Regions from separate parts of the Homo sapiens genome. Here all the other regions are linked to region 1. The links are contacts of gene promoters, found by promoter capture Hi-C in human tissues and cell types (Jung and others, 2019). All regions are on one chromosome and are shown on one strand. Each heading gives the region's core, a stretch centred on a gene start or on the middle of the fragment in contact. The rest is flanking DNA. Distances are from core to core; before and after follow the strand shown.

Region 1 (3,841 bases), core at 596-3,095:
CTAGGTGTCTATTGCTATGTAACAACCACCCAGATGACAATCTTTTATTATTATCACTTACGTTTCCGGGGCCTGATTTGGCTCAGCTAGGTTTTCTCTCTAGGTCTCTCAGGCAGCGTGGTCAGTGACTGTGGCTGGAGTTCTTTCAAAAGCTCGCCAACTCACATGCTTGATATAAGTTGTACTGGCAGTAGACCAGGTCCTCAGCTGGCACCATCAGCCCAAACACCTACACATGGCCTTCCCTGTGGCTTGAGCTTCCTCACAATATGGCAGCTGGGTTCCAAGGGTGAGTGTCCCAAGGGAGAGCCAGGTGAAAACTTCATCTCCTTTTATGACCTAGGTTTGGAAGTCACATAGCATCACATCTGCTGTATTCTATTTGTTACAATCAAATCACTAAGTCCAGACCATATTCAAAAGGAGGGCAATTAATATCCACTCTCTAATGGGAGTCTTCAAACCACCATAGCCATGTATTCCCTGAAGACCTCTCTGTCCTTGGCTTTGCTGGTCTGTAAAACAAGGATAATGAGAGAAACTTACCTCAGAGCTTTTTGTGAGGATTAAACAAAGAACAGTCCCTGGTACCCAGTATGTGTTAGTTTCGCCCATTATCACACCACTTGTACATCTGAAGTGATGCTGATGGTGACATCAATGATGAGACAGTTCCCAGCAGATATAGTCTGTGAAGGTCCCACCTTTCCAAACTCTACTAGTGGCATTTAACAAATCCCAGCGCCTGTGGTTCTTATGCCAGTGGGAACAGTTACTATATATGGTCTGAATTCTTTGGTTCACCTCACTTTAGTGACAGTTTCCAGATACAGGTCAGTCCATTTAAACCTGGCCCATTTATGGCAATTTATTTCATTATAGGATAAAGTAGTTAGAACCATGAGTAATAATTACTGTGTCTACAGTGCTTTTAACACCTCAGCCAAGTAATCCTCATCTCACCCAGTGAGTAAGTTTGAATGCGCACCCTTCCCTGTGCGAGGATGAAGAAACCAGGACCTGGGTCAAGAGGATTGTTCTAAATTCTCCAATGAGGCAATAGGGCTTGAGTGAGAAGGTGTGTGTGTGTGTGTAGGGGGGGTGTCCTGATTCTCTGGCCCCTACATGCCTGTATAATATACCCCATCACTGATCATTACTCAGGACCTGTTAATACACTCTATTCAAATACGTATGGGTATTTGAAATTTCTTTTAAACTACCTCTCATGTATTTATAACACAAAGAATTGGCCAGTGTCTATTTCCCACAATGTGAGATTAAGTAATTTAAAAGATACTAAAAGTCTTGTAAATGAAGACACACCACACCACTCAGTATAATTTTTTTCTTTTTCTGTGAAACTAATATTTTCTGATATTCTCGGCATCCAAAAATTTTCATCTTGGGGAGGAGGAAAAATTGAGACTTACTCCCACTGTTTGCCGGAATGTGACCCCAGGCTGGCTTCGAGTTGTCAAATGTTGTATTTCTCATTTTATGTCAGTGAGTCTGGAAGCAAAAAAGGTAGAAAGACTGCCTTCCGTGGGGGCCGCGACGATCGCCCCTCCTTCCCTCAAGCCTCGTCCCATCCAGGCTCGCCCCGGGTGCGGAGGGTCGGGCCGCAAACCCGCAAGGCGCGGAGGCCGCCGCGACGCTCACCGGGGGGCGCTGTGAAGCCGGCACCGGGCGGACAGAGGTGAGTCGGCTCGGAGGCGGTGGCTCCCGTTCCTGCCCGCGCGCCGAGGGGCGAATCCCAGGCAGCGAGGTCGCCGCCCCCGCCCCTCGGCCGGCCCCTCCGCCAGCGGGCGAGAGGGGAGTGGCCGGGCTCCTCCCGCCGCCGCTGAGCACTCCGCAGCTGGGTGCGCACGGGAGCCTCAACCGCGGCGCGTGGAGGCAGTACCAGAGCGCGCGGCGCGCAGTCGGCCGGCAGCCGCGGGACAGCCTTGGCAGAACAGCCGCGGCGGGAGCCCCGCAGCCCCGGGCTGGGCCCGCGTCCCGGAGCGCCACCGGAGAGCGAGGACGACGTGGAGGCGGAGTGGCGCCCGGCGAGGTAGCGCCAGGCGAGGTAGCGCGAGCGCTTTCTCTCTCTCTCCCCTGCCCTTCCCTCTGCGTCCGTCGTCGGCCCCCGAGGCGCCTGCTCCGCGCCTTTGTGCCCGCGGTCCCTGGCCCCGTCGCACCCTGCGGGCGGGGGTCAGCGGGCTCTGCCGCTCTCTTGGGAGACGCGGCGCTGCGGCGGGAACGGCGCACGCTGTAGGTTGCGGAGGGTGGTCGTGACTCCGCAGTGGCTTCGGGGGTGGCGGGAGGGAAGAAGGGCTTGTAAACTAAGTTGCTCTTACTTTGCCCCATGCCTCTCGTACCTGTGGGCAGAGTCGAATCTCGGCTGTCCTCGTGTTCACCCACAGCCCCTCCATTCCTCTGGCCCACAGCTGTTTCCTGGCCCCCTGGAAAGACACGGTGTGGCTTCCTCCGGGCAGGAAAGCGGAGGGAGAACAATGGGGCGTCCTGGGGAGTGGGGTTCAGGTGCGGTGTGCCCCGGCGGCGGCGGGGGAGGAGGGGCCCGGGACGCTGTGGGCCTCCCTGCGCGTGCAGCTGCGCTCGCCTCCTTTGTTCCGCCGCAGCGGAGGGGGTTGCCCTGGGTCTCGTTTCCTGCCCGGGATGGGATTGATTCACGGTCCCAGAGAGGGAAGGGGAAGGGGGCGGGGCTGGAATGGAAACCAGATTAGAGACGGGAGCTACGAAGGGTGGTGGGGCCGGGAAGAGAGTTGGGGAGAGGGTTGGGAGAGGGTGATGAGAGCGCGCTGGAGAGGTAACTACAAACACACAACATTTTGTTCAAGGGCCATGTGAGTTTCTAGAGCTTATTTGTAGTGCTTTGTTCAGGCTTCGGCCCAGCGTTTATTGCTGCAACAAGTTGTGTGCTTCTTGAGTTTCTAGGCGTTCCCAATGTTAGATTGCTCAAAGCAAATCTTCTTAGTTACAGTGAAAGAAGCCCCCCCCCCTTTTTTTTTGAGATTTGAAAAAATTTTGCTATGAACTATGGTATTGGTGTGTATGTGTGTGCCTCTGGGTCTGTGTGTGTAGCTAGTGGATATTGGCTGGAATGGGTAGGAGACAAATTTTATAGAATCAATTTTGACGTAAAATTGTTTTATAGTATAATATAGTACAACAGTTTTCCAGGACTGTTTGAGGGCAGAAACCACCAGAAAATTAGACATTGCTATAAATAAATGAATCAGACTATGTAACACAATTGAAAAACCCTTTTACAGTCTGTCCCAGGAAACACACCACACACACCAGCGTTTGGGGTTTGAACTGAGGAGCCCTGGCATTGAAGTGTTCTGTGCTTTCACTCTCTGTGTGAGGATCGTTTAGAGGTGGTAGAATTAAATGTAATGTGTCAGACATTTGTTAAGTGACCTTTCCTAGATTGGAATCGAGACTCGCCAAAGGATTGGCTGACCTAGGGAGGGAGCTATGGGGGATTGAATGATGTGTGTTTTTTGAATGGGGTATTCCAAGCAAAACTGTTTTGGGAGGAGGCTGACATTTCCAGGCATTCATGGTTTGTGCCTGTGGGACACTGGTGGGAGGATTCCCAAAGTCGGACTGAAGGTTAGCATTACTGTGGTGATAATTTAGGAGACATTCTGTTGTAGTAGTCTGGCTGCAGACAGGGCTGGGAAGTGGCCCAGAGCTGCCTCTTTGACAAGCTGAGGGTCCGCCATTAAACCACCCCTTTGGCCATTTATTTTGAGATGAACCAAGTTTGAAAGCCTCTTAACCTTAGAAGGCTAATTAGGAGCTTGCTGTGGGGGAAAAAAATATCTCCTGC
Region 2 (3,889 bases), core at 786-3,285, 73 kb before region 1:
ACACAGTGGAATTTGATGTTACTGGCTTACTAAACTCAAACAAACTTTCAAATTCACTGTGTAAATGCATTTAATTTCAGCAAAACAGCATCCATTATCTTAAGTTTACATTCAAATATTATAGATTATATTTTTGTTTTAATTTTATTTTAAAAATTAGTGCTGTGTATGGTGGAAAGTAGGAATATAGATATAGATATCATACGGCATTATCTAATTTAGTTTTAAAATGATCCCTGCAGCGTAGTTATTATTATCCCATATTATAGATGAGGAAATTGAGGGTTAGAGGGTTCAATAACTTATGCAAATTCAAACAGCAATTAAGTAGCAAATTAGGGATTTTAAACCAGTTCTATTCAATGCCACTTCTTCTGCACATGCACATTCAGATGTCATCTTCAGAGACATCAAAGTAGAATTTGTAAATGACAGAAGCTGAGAAGTGCAAGGACCCAGACTCATCTACAATATCTACTTCCTGGCCGTGACTCATCAGAGGAAAACTACGAATTATGGTTTTACTAAATCAAGGAGTTATATTCGATGACTTTTCAAATCTTCTCTCATCCCCTTGAGTCTATGATCCCTTATCAAATTTCTACTGCTCCCTAAACATTTCAGATTTCAAGAGCTCAGTTGAATCAATGAGGAACTCTTACCCATATTGAAGGAAATGTCTTTTATAGTGATATGTTCCTGTTTCCCTAAAACACCACGAGCAAACTTCAAATACCATTCCAACTTTTGCCCTTTTTTTTTTGTCCACACCTCTTTCAAAAATAAGTAACAGCATTAACAAAAACCAACAAAATTTGGCCCTAGCCCATCTGAAGTATCAGCCAGATTTGCATTTAGTTCCCCAGACCAAAGTAGGAGAAGCAGTTAGCTGGTTACAAGCCCTTCACAGTGCTAAAGAACAATGAATGGAGGGCTTCAAAATCAAAACCATACGTTTGGTAGGAAACAGCTCCAACTGGTGCTTGATTACTAACTAGGCGTTCTGCTTCTAACATGATTAGGACAAACACAGAAAACCCTGTAGGGTTTGAACTGATGGACTGATGTTTCCCTCCCAGGAAGAAAAAGAGCAGTATCCAATGGCATTGAATCACTGTGATTCTGGATACCTTCAAAAGCCAGGGCTTTGAGGGGGTTCTCATTTCTATGCCACACAGTGAGCCCTTCTCTTTCTCAGGAATCCTCTCCAGAGAGAGAGGCTTTGTGTAGAATTTTCCTGAATGCAATGAATGTCAGCACATTCCCAGCTAGAATGTGCATTCTATTCTTATCAAGTGAAACTGACCTCCCTGCCCCAGCATGCTCTCCTTGTTCAACATGATGATTAATTTCAATGATGCAGGTTTCTAGATGAATTGCACTAGAATTTGCATCCACTCCAGATGGCAAATATGTACCTCTGGAATCTCCTCACCCTTAGGAAAGAGGTCATGTGCTAGCTTGCAAGAATGAGGATTTTTAAAATAGTTGGCTTACAATCAAATCTGTGTCCCACAAAATGCTCTGTCCAGACTAGCCTCTCTCCTTTTAGTTGGCAGCGATCCTCTCCTTCCTACTCATTTTCCATCTGATACCATGTGACTCAAGTAGGAGTCACAACCAAAATGAATTTTTTTTACTGCAAAATTCAAGATTTTACAGTATTTTTTCAGCCAATGGAAGCAACCAGGATTCATAAGAGTCTGCAAGTTGATGTTCAATAGGCCCCTGAATCATGCTTATTCACAGATTTCCAAGTTAATTGCCCTGATACATGCTACTGAGCTTCTTCTAGTGAACAAAAATCTTACTCCATTAGTCATCACTGTCAAAAGGAATACAGTACGCAAAATAAAAGCTGGTCCTCTTTTTGTGTGCATTTCTGCATCAGAGTGATTGTTTCAACATTGATTAAATACAGATTTCCCCCCAAAGCTTTGTTGGAAGCGCTAAGTGGTTCAGGTGATGGAAAGTGAGTTAATTCATGTGCTCCCCTAAGTATTTTTTATTGAGGCATTTTCTTAGGATTCAAAGCAAAAAGGAAGGAAATTGCTCTTATGTGTATCAAGGAAGTCCAAATACTCACATGGACAAATAGCTGCCCCACTTCATTCGCCCTTCTTTGCATCCCAGAACTGTCACCTCCAGGAGCCTCTGCTGAGGTTACCATGGAGCTGTGGGGAAAATTTTGTTTGGAGCTTTCAGAGGATCTGTGGGGATAAACGTGGATGAAGACAAAAACCTGAAAATCTAGGGGCTGGCTCTGGGTTGGGGCAGAATCATAAGAGCTGGCCCACCCACCCAGCAGTGTCCTGGCTCCCTCATTACCTGAAATTCCACAAATTTAGTTCAAGACAACGCACATTTGCTGTGTCCTGGGAATTCTGAGATAACTAAAAAAAAAGCTCACGGTATAATGGGAAAGGTAGGAACTTTGTTATAAGATAACTCTGCCTGAAAGAGGTGAAAAGGCATTACTGAGGTATTTTTGAGCCAGATTTTGAAGGCAGGATGGAAGATTGCCAAATGCAGAAGAGAAAGCCAAGGGAATCCCATTTACAAAGGTCAGGGCCTGATTTGCTGTGGCAGAAGAATGGGATCTGGAGGAACCTAGCACTCACAGGAGAGGAGATGAGGCAGGTTTCGCCAGGCCCGAAGACGTGGCCACCAAAGTGTAAGATAGTGTGATCTGCAACAGTGCTGGAAATAGACTGGGGTAGGGAGAGACCAGTTGTGAGGTTTTTGCCATAGTCCCAGCAAGTACTTATGAAGATCTGGACGGCAGTGACAGCAGGACTTAAAAAAAAAAAAAATCACATCTTAGAAATTTTTTTTTCTTTTTTTTTTTGAGATGGAGTCTCTGTCTCACAGGCTGGAGTGCAGTGGCTCAATCTCACTGCAACCTCTGCTTCCTGCCAGAGTGGCTCACTGCAATCTCTGCCTCCTGCCAGGTTCAAGCTATTCTCCTGCCTCAGCCTCCTGAGTAGCTGGAATTATAGGTGCTTGCCACCACGCCCAGCTAATTTTTTGTGTTTTTAGTAGCGATGGGGTTTTACCATGTTGGCCAGGCTGGTCTTGAGCTCCTGAACTCAGGTGATCCTCCTGCCTCAGCCTCCCAAAGTGCTGGGATTACAGGCATAAGCCACCGTGCCCAGCCCTTAAAGACATCTTTGGAAGGTAGAATTGACAACATTGGATGTGGGTGATAAGGGAGATGTCTGCAGAGGTTTCTAGTTTGGGGGATTAAGCTGATGGTGGCAGTTCTGAGTGAGGTTTCTATCTACCTCTATCTCTTCATCTGTCTGCTTCTCTCTCGGTCTCTTTCTCTGCCTCTATTTTTTCTATTTCTGTTTTTCTCTGAGACATTCTATACCTGTCTTTTGTCTCTTGCTTTTTTATGTTATCAGCTTCGTTCTACACATCAGTTCCATTCTCCTCTCTATAATGACCAACTTCTTCTGCCCCCTGGTAACTCAAGATGACACATGCCTTTGACTTTCCATAGCTTTCATTCCCTTGAAATTCTCTCACTTCCCATTCCACTGTTCATTATAAAGTTCGTTCCATATTTTTCTGTTCAAATTTCCAATAAAGAGAATCTAATGAGAGGCAGCATCTGGCTCCCACTGTCATGGCTATTGCAGTACATTGAGCTCCATAGAAATAGTGCTGGGGAAAGTGAGAATTGATAAGCACTGGGCCACTCTGTTGGTGGCTAAGGAAAAATTACTAAACATGCGCAAAGGAGATCCTAAGAGGCCATGGGGCAACATGTCATCATATGCATTCTCTGTATAGACTTGCTGGGAGGAAGCACAAGAAGCAGCATCCAGCTCCTTCGGTCAGCTTCTCAGAGTTGTCTCAGGAGTGCTCAGGGAGGTGGAAGGCC
Region 3 (4,060 bases), core at 672-3,171, 81 kb after region 1:
AAATTACCATGCTTATACTGGCATAGGACAAGACTGCAGTGAAGCCTTCCAGGATAAAGGTACAAATAACTATAAAGACTTATTTTCCCTAAAGTTTTACCTTAAGATGTGATAAGATGAATGTCTGGTGGAAGGGCATAACACTAACTTGACAATGATATCAAAATGTCAACTTGGGGATATTTTCCAATTGGGCAAATGTTTCTGAATTAAGAATATGAGACAATTATAGATATAAAGATATAAGGAAGGCCAACGTAGTGCCTCTCCTTAAGAAAACTCAAGGTTTCCATGCAAAACACACCATACATAATTCCCTTTCTCCTTTTCCTTCTCTTCCATGTCCTTGTGGACCACCTCAATCCTGATTGGGCTTAGCGTGAAGTTAGAATTGGGGAAGCACATGGAGGTTAGGCATTTTTAAAAAACACTTTTTTGGGGGTTAGTTTAGAAACACCCAGTTTTAGGACTAAACCAGAGCTAGTAAGGAAAAGAAATAGTGGAGACTTGTATATCTCAATTGTAGATGGGAATTTTGAGACTGAGCTATTTTGAGAGGTTTGAATTCCAAAGGAGAATTTCCTGGTGTTATTTGAAAGTACTCTAGGGCTCAAGATTAAATGAAAAGGAATAATACCATTTTGAGAGCTTTTGAAGAAAATGACTTGAAATAAGAAGGTAGAAACAGTTATCTAAGTTCAGGTAAGTTTCCTGAGACAAATTTAGTTCTGTTAAACACTTTGGCTAATGGAGAGGTCCAACTACCAGTTCTCAGAATGGATTAGATTGTCTTTGGAGAATGATTTCTCAAGCAACTCTATAGGGAAGAGCTGGAGAGGCTGAAACATGGGGCCATGTTTGAAAGAACATAAGCTTTGGATGTATTTCGGTGTCACAGACATCTTTTCTGCTTTGCACTTGAGGTGAAACAAACCTAGGAAGGAAATGGCAGGGTAGAGAACATGGAGCTTTGGGAAAAGAAGCCCTGCCATTGTGTCTGATGGCCATGAAAGCAGAACCACTCTGACGAACACTCTGAACAGAAATAAGATGGGAGAGGAACAAAAATACCAGCTAGACAATTGTGAACATGCAACCCAGCATTCCACCGTGACAGAAAATAACAGATGAGCCCCAAACCAAACTTCTAAAACCTAAAAGTGATAGATACAGCTGTCTGGAAACATACTTAGTGCTAGGGAAAGTTTGGCTCTCAAAGAACAGCCGTGTAGCTGATCTGGAAATGAAGGGGAGATGGCCTTTAAACATCGGGCTGACCCTATTCTTAGAGCTCAACTAGAGGACAGAAGAAGAGGATAAAACCATGCCCTTAATGTGGTAGGACTAAAACTGTGTTTACTCCCTTACGCTATCGTCATTATATTATAATTAACCATTCATTTCTCTGTGTGGTAAATAACAATGCTGACACGGTCACAAAATAATGTGAAGCATATGGGTCACAACCGTTTTTAACTAAAGACTTCTCTAAAGATTTATTTAGGTTCCTTAATTACAGAGTGGCTTGGAAGACTGGCATGTGGTTTCAGTTTATAGTTATAAATGTTGGAGCTGATGATGGGTACGTGCTCTTATTGCCAGAGAGGGAGAGGAACAAGATTGGGAGGGGGTTTGTGTTCTTTGGGGCCCTCCCTTTTGCCCCCACCCCTTGTTTTTTTAAAGAAATTGAAGATCTGTGTTTATAAGAAATAAGTCTGATGACATTTATACTGTCCTTGAGATGGGTATGCCAGTAGTTACAAGCAAATTTTTCCAGTGCTTAAGTACTTTAATTGGTAAATTTTCACGTCACTTTGAACTCAGTGGCTCTCTAGAATCCTGAAAGAATAAATCCCTTTTAGCCTTTGTCTTCTATTAAAATTATACTCTCTGTTAGATGAATGAGACCCTGTCTTTGAGGACAGCAGTTAAGTATTTCAGCCTGGATAGAGAAGAAAAAAATAAGTATTCAACTTAGGTTCTTTGAGTTAAAATGAACTCACAACAGGGTGATTTGGTGATCTTCCAAAGCCTTGTGTTTGTATATATGTGTGTGTGTGTGTGTGTGTGTGTGTGTGTGTGTGTGTGTGTGTGCGCGCGCCATATATGTTACTCATTTTTGAAGTAATTTTGCATTATTTTGGAACCAGTGGTAAATATAATGCAAAGTTGTAGCCCTAGGAGCATGGGAAAAAGGTCTGTATTCAACAATACATGAAGAATTCAGTGAGTACGTATTATATATTGGAAAACTTCTTTTGTATTTACTGTAATGTGTTTTCCTGCATTTCTTGCCAATGATGATAATGAAAGTGGCATCTCAAAATATTATCTGAACATTGGAGGAGCAGAAGGGGAGGAAGGCTCATAAAAAAATCTAAGCAATGCTTTCCTTTCCTACATGAAGGTCATAGAAGAAATGAATTTCCCATTGTTTATCATTCTTCATGGAGCTCACTCCAGTAGGGACTTTGCCACTGCTTCGAGAGCATCCACTCATTCATCCATCCCTTCATTTATGACTTGGTATTGGTTACATTTCATGTTTATGTCTCTGTGGCATAAACATGGCATAAAGATTAATTAGAAAGGCTCTGCCCTAGAGGAGTTTGTATTCTGGTAGGGAATAAGAAGGTGTGTACATAACTAATTATAACACACAAAGATTTTCTGACATTTATTCAGGGCTTTATAAATTTCAAAGTGCTTGTATGCACTTTTATTTGATCTTCTAAAGTATGTGGCTACATTCTCCATGTTGGAGATGAAGACACTGAAGTTCAGCCATGGTAATGACTTGCTTGAAGTCAAGTAGGTGTTGAGATACATCTATAGGGCCCAGGGAATTGCATCTGAGATGTTTTCTGCCTCTGTGTTCATTGTTTTCCACTATCCCCATTATGCAATGGTGCACAGACTGGGGAATCAGAATGTGAGAGAAGGCTAAGGCCACAAGCAGCTGTGAAGCTTGAGCAAGGCTTTGGTTGTGTAGAGAATGGTTGAAAGGCCTTTGAGAGACAGAGATCAGTGCACATTGTTCAAAGGAACAAGCTAGAACAAGCTGTTATTCAAAAAAGACCCTGGTGTCAGGATCTTTTTATTACTTTTTTTCTGTCTGTCGTTTTATTCATACATTCATTCAACAAATGCACTTAGAGTATACAGTACTTATTATATGCAAGGCAGCAGACTCACTGATATGAAGGTTACAAAATAAGACTAGGGGTGGCTATCCTTGAGGATCTCACAGTAGTTCAGCTGGAAGGTAAGATATGCTGGCAAATAATTGTAGGAGAACATGATGAGAGAGGGAAGAATGTGATTCACAGTATTTCTGGGTTCAAGTTATGACTCTTCTGAGAATGGGATCATGGGCTTCTCATGTCATCTCTTAAGACCATGTTTCTTTAAGGAGGCTAGCATTTAATTTGCAGGTCTGTGTTGAAGATTAAGTCCAATTGTGAATCCTAGGACACTTTACTGGGCTCCTGGCACATCAAAGGTGTTCAGTAAATTGTCATTATTTATGGTTCCGTATGCCTTTGGAAGAAAAGCCAAAGTCCTTGACTGGTGTGAACAGCTCTCTGTGATCTACTTGGCCAAATATACACTCTTCCTGTATCCCAGTCTTTCACCAGTCTCCTGGCTGCAGACTGGTTGCTCTCTGCACCCTTGTCACCCTGTGGTCTATGCAAAATGCAAAGGTGCTTTATCCCAGTGGTCAGTCGCAGGCGTTAGCTCTGGCCCTGCTGTGTCACACTGGCAGTGGACCTCAGCAAGTTATGCCTTTGCTTTGTGCTGGTCTTGTTGTGAGATTTAAAATGACTAAACGTAAAGAGCTTGGAGGCAGTTCTGGTACATGGTAAATTGGATATTATTAATTCCAATTACTGTCTTATCCATCCTGCACTGAAGCTTCCTATCAGCTCTTTTGTTTTTCATTTGGAACCTGCCTATCTCTCTCCGCAGCTCATCTCTTATCCTCTCTTCATTATGCTTTGCTTTGCCTTCCAGCTACATCGAACTGCACATAATCCTTCACCCCACCTCCATGATGTTT

Evidence for each region. Contacts are between HindIII fragments. The study calls those that stand out against the background at their distance.
Region 2: a contact is called between a fragment that was not itself captured here and the fragment with the promoter of MYO1B in region 1, in 3 of the 25 tissues and cell types used here (bladder, hippocampus and liver).
Region 3: a fragment that was not itself captured here is called in contact with the fragment with the promoter of MYO1B in region 1 in 2 of the 25 tissues and cell types used here (IMR-90 fibroblasts and mesenchymal stem cells).

Annotation. Positions count from the first base shown.
Region 1 is chr2:191,243,559-191,247,399 of GRCh38, forward strand. It overlaps MYO1B (myosin IB), which reads left to right and starts at 1,846. Exons shown (of 31, transcript NM_001130158.3): 1 at 1,846-2,068. It overlaps MYO1B-AS1 (MYO1B antisense RNA 1), which reads right to left and starts at 2,617. Exons shown (of 4, transcript NR_186085.1): 1 at 2,361-2,617; 2 at 62-515. RefSeq lists an enhancer at 1,732-2,354 and a silencer at 1,767-2,156. The HindIII fragment of the contact is 14,933 bases long and covers 1-3,841 here.
Region 2 is chr2:191,170,498-191,174,386 of GRCh38, forward strand. It overlaps the pseudogene HMGB1P27. Among named protein-coding and RNA genes, the nearest start is that of STAT4, 21 kb to the left of the region's middle. The HindIII fragment of the contact is 6,101 bases long and covers 1-3,889 here.
Region 3 is chr2:191,324,723-191,328,782 of GRCh38, forward strand. The region is part of intron 3 of MYO1B (myosin IB); the gene reads left to right. Among named protein-coding and RNA genes, the nearest start is that of MYO1B-AS1, 81 kb to the left of the region's middle. The HindIII fragment of the contact is 3,039 bases long and covers 403-3,441 here.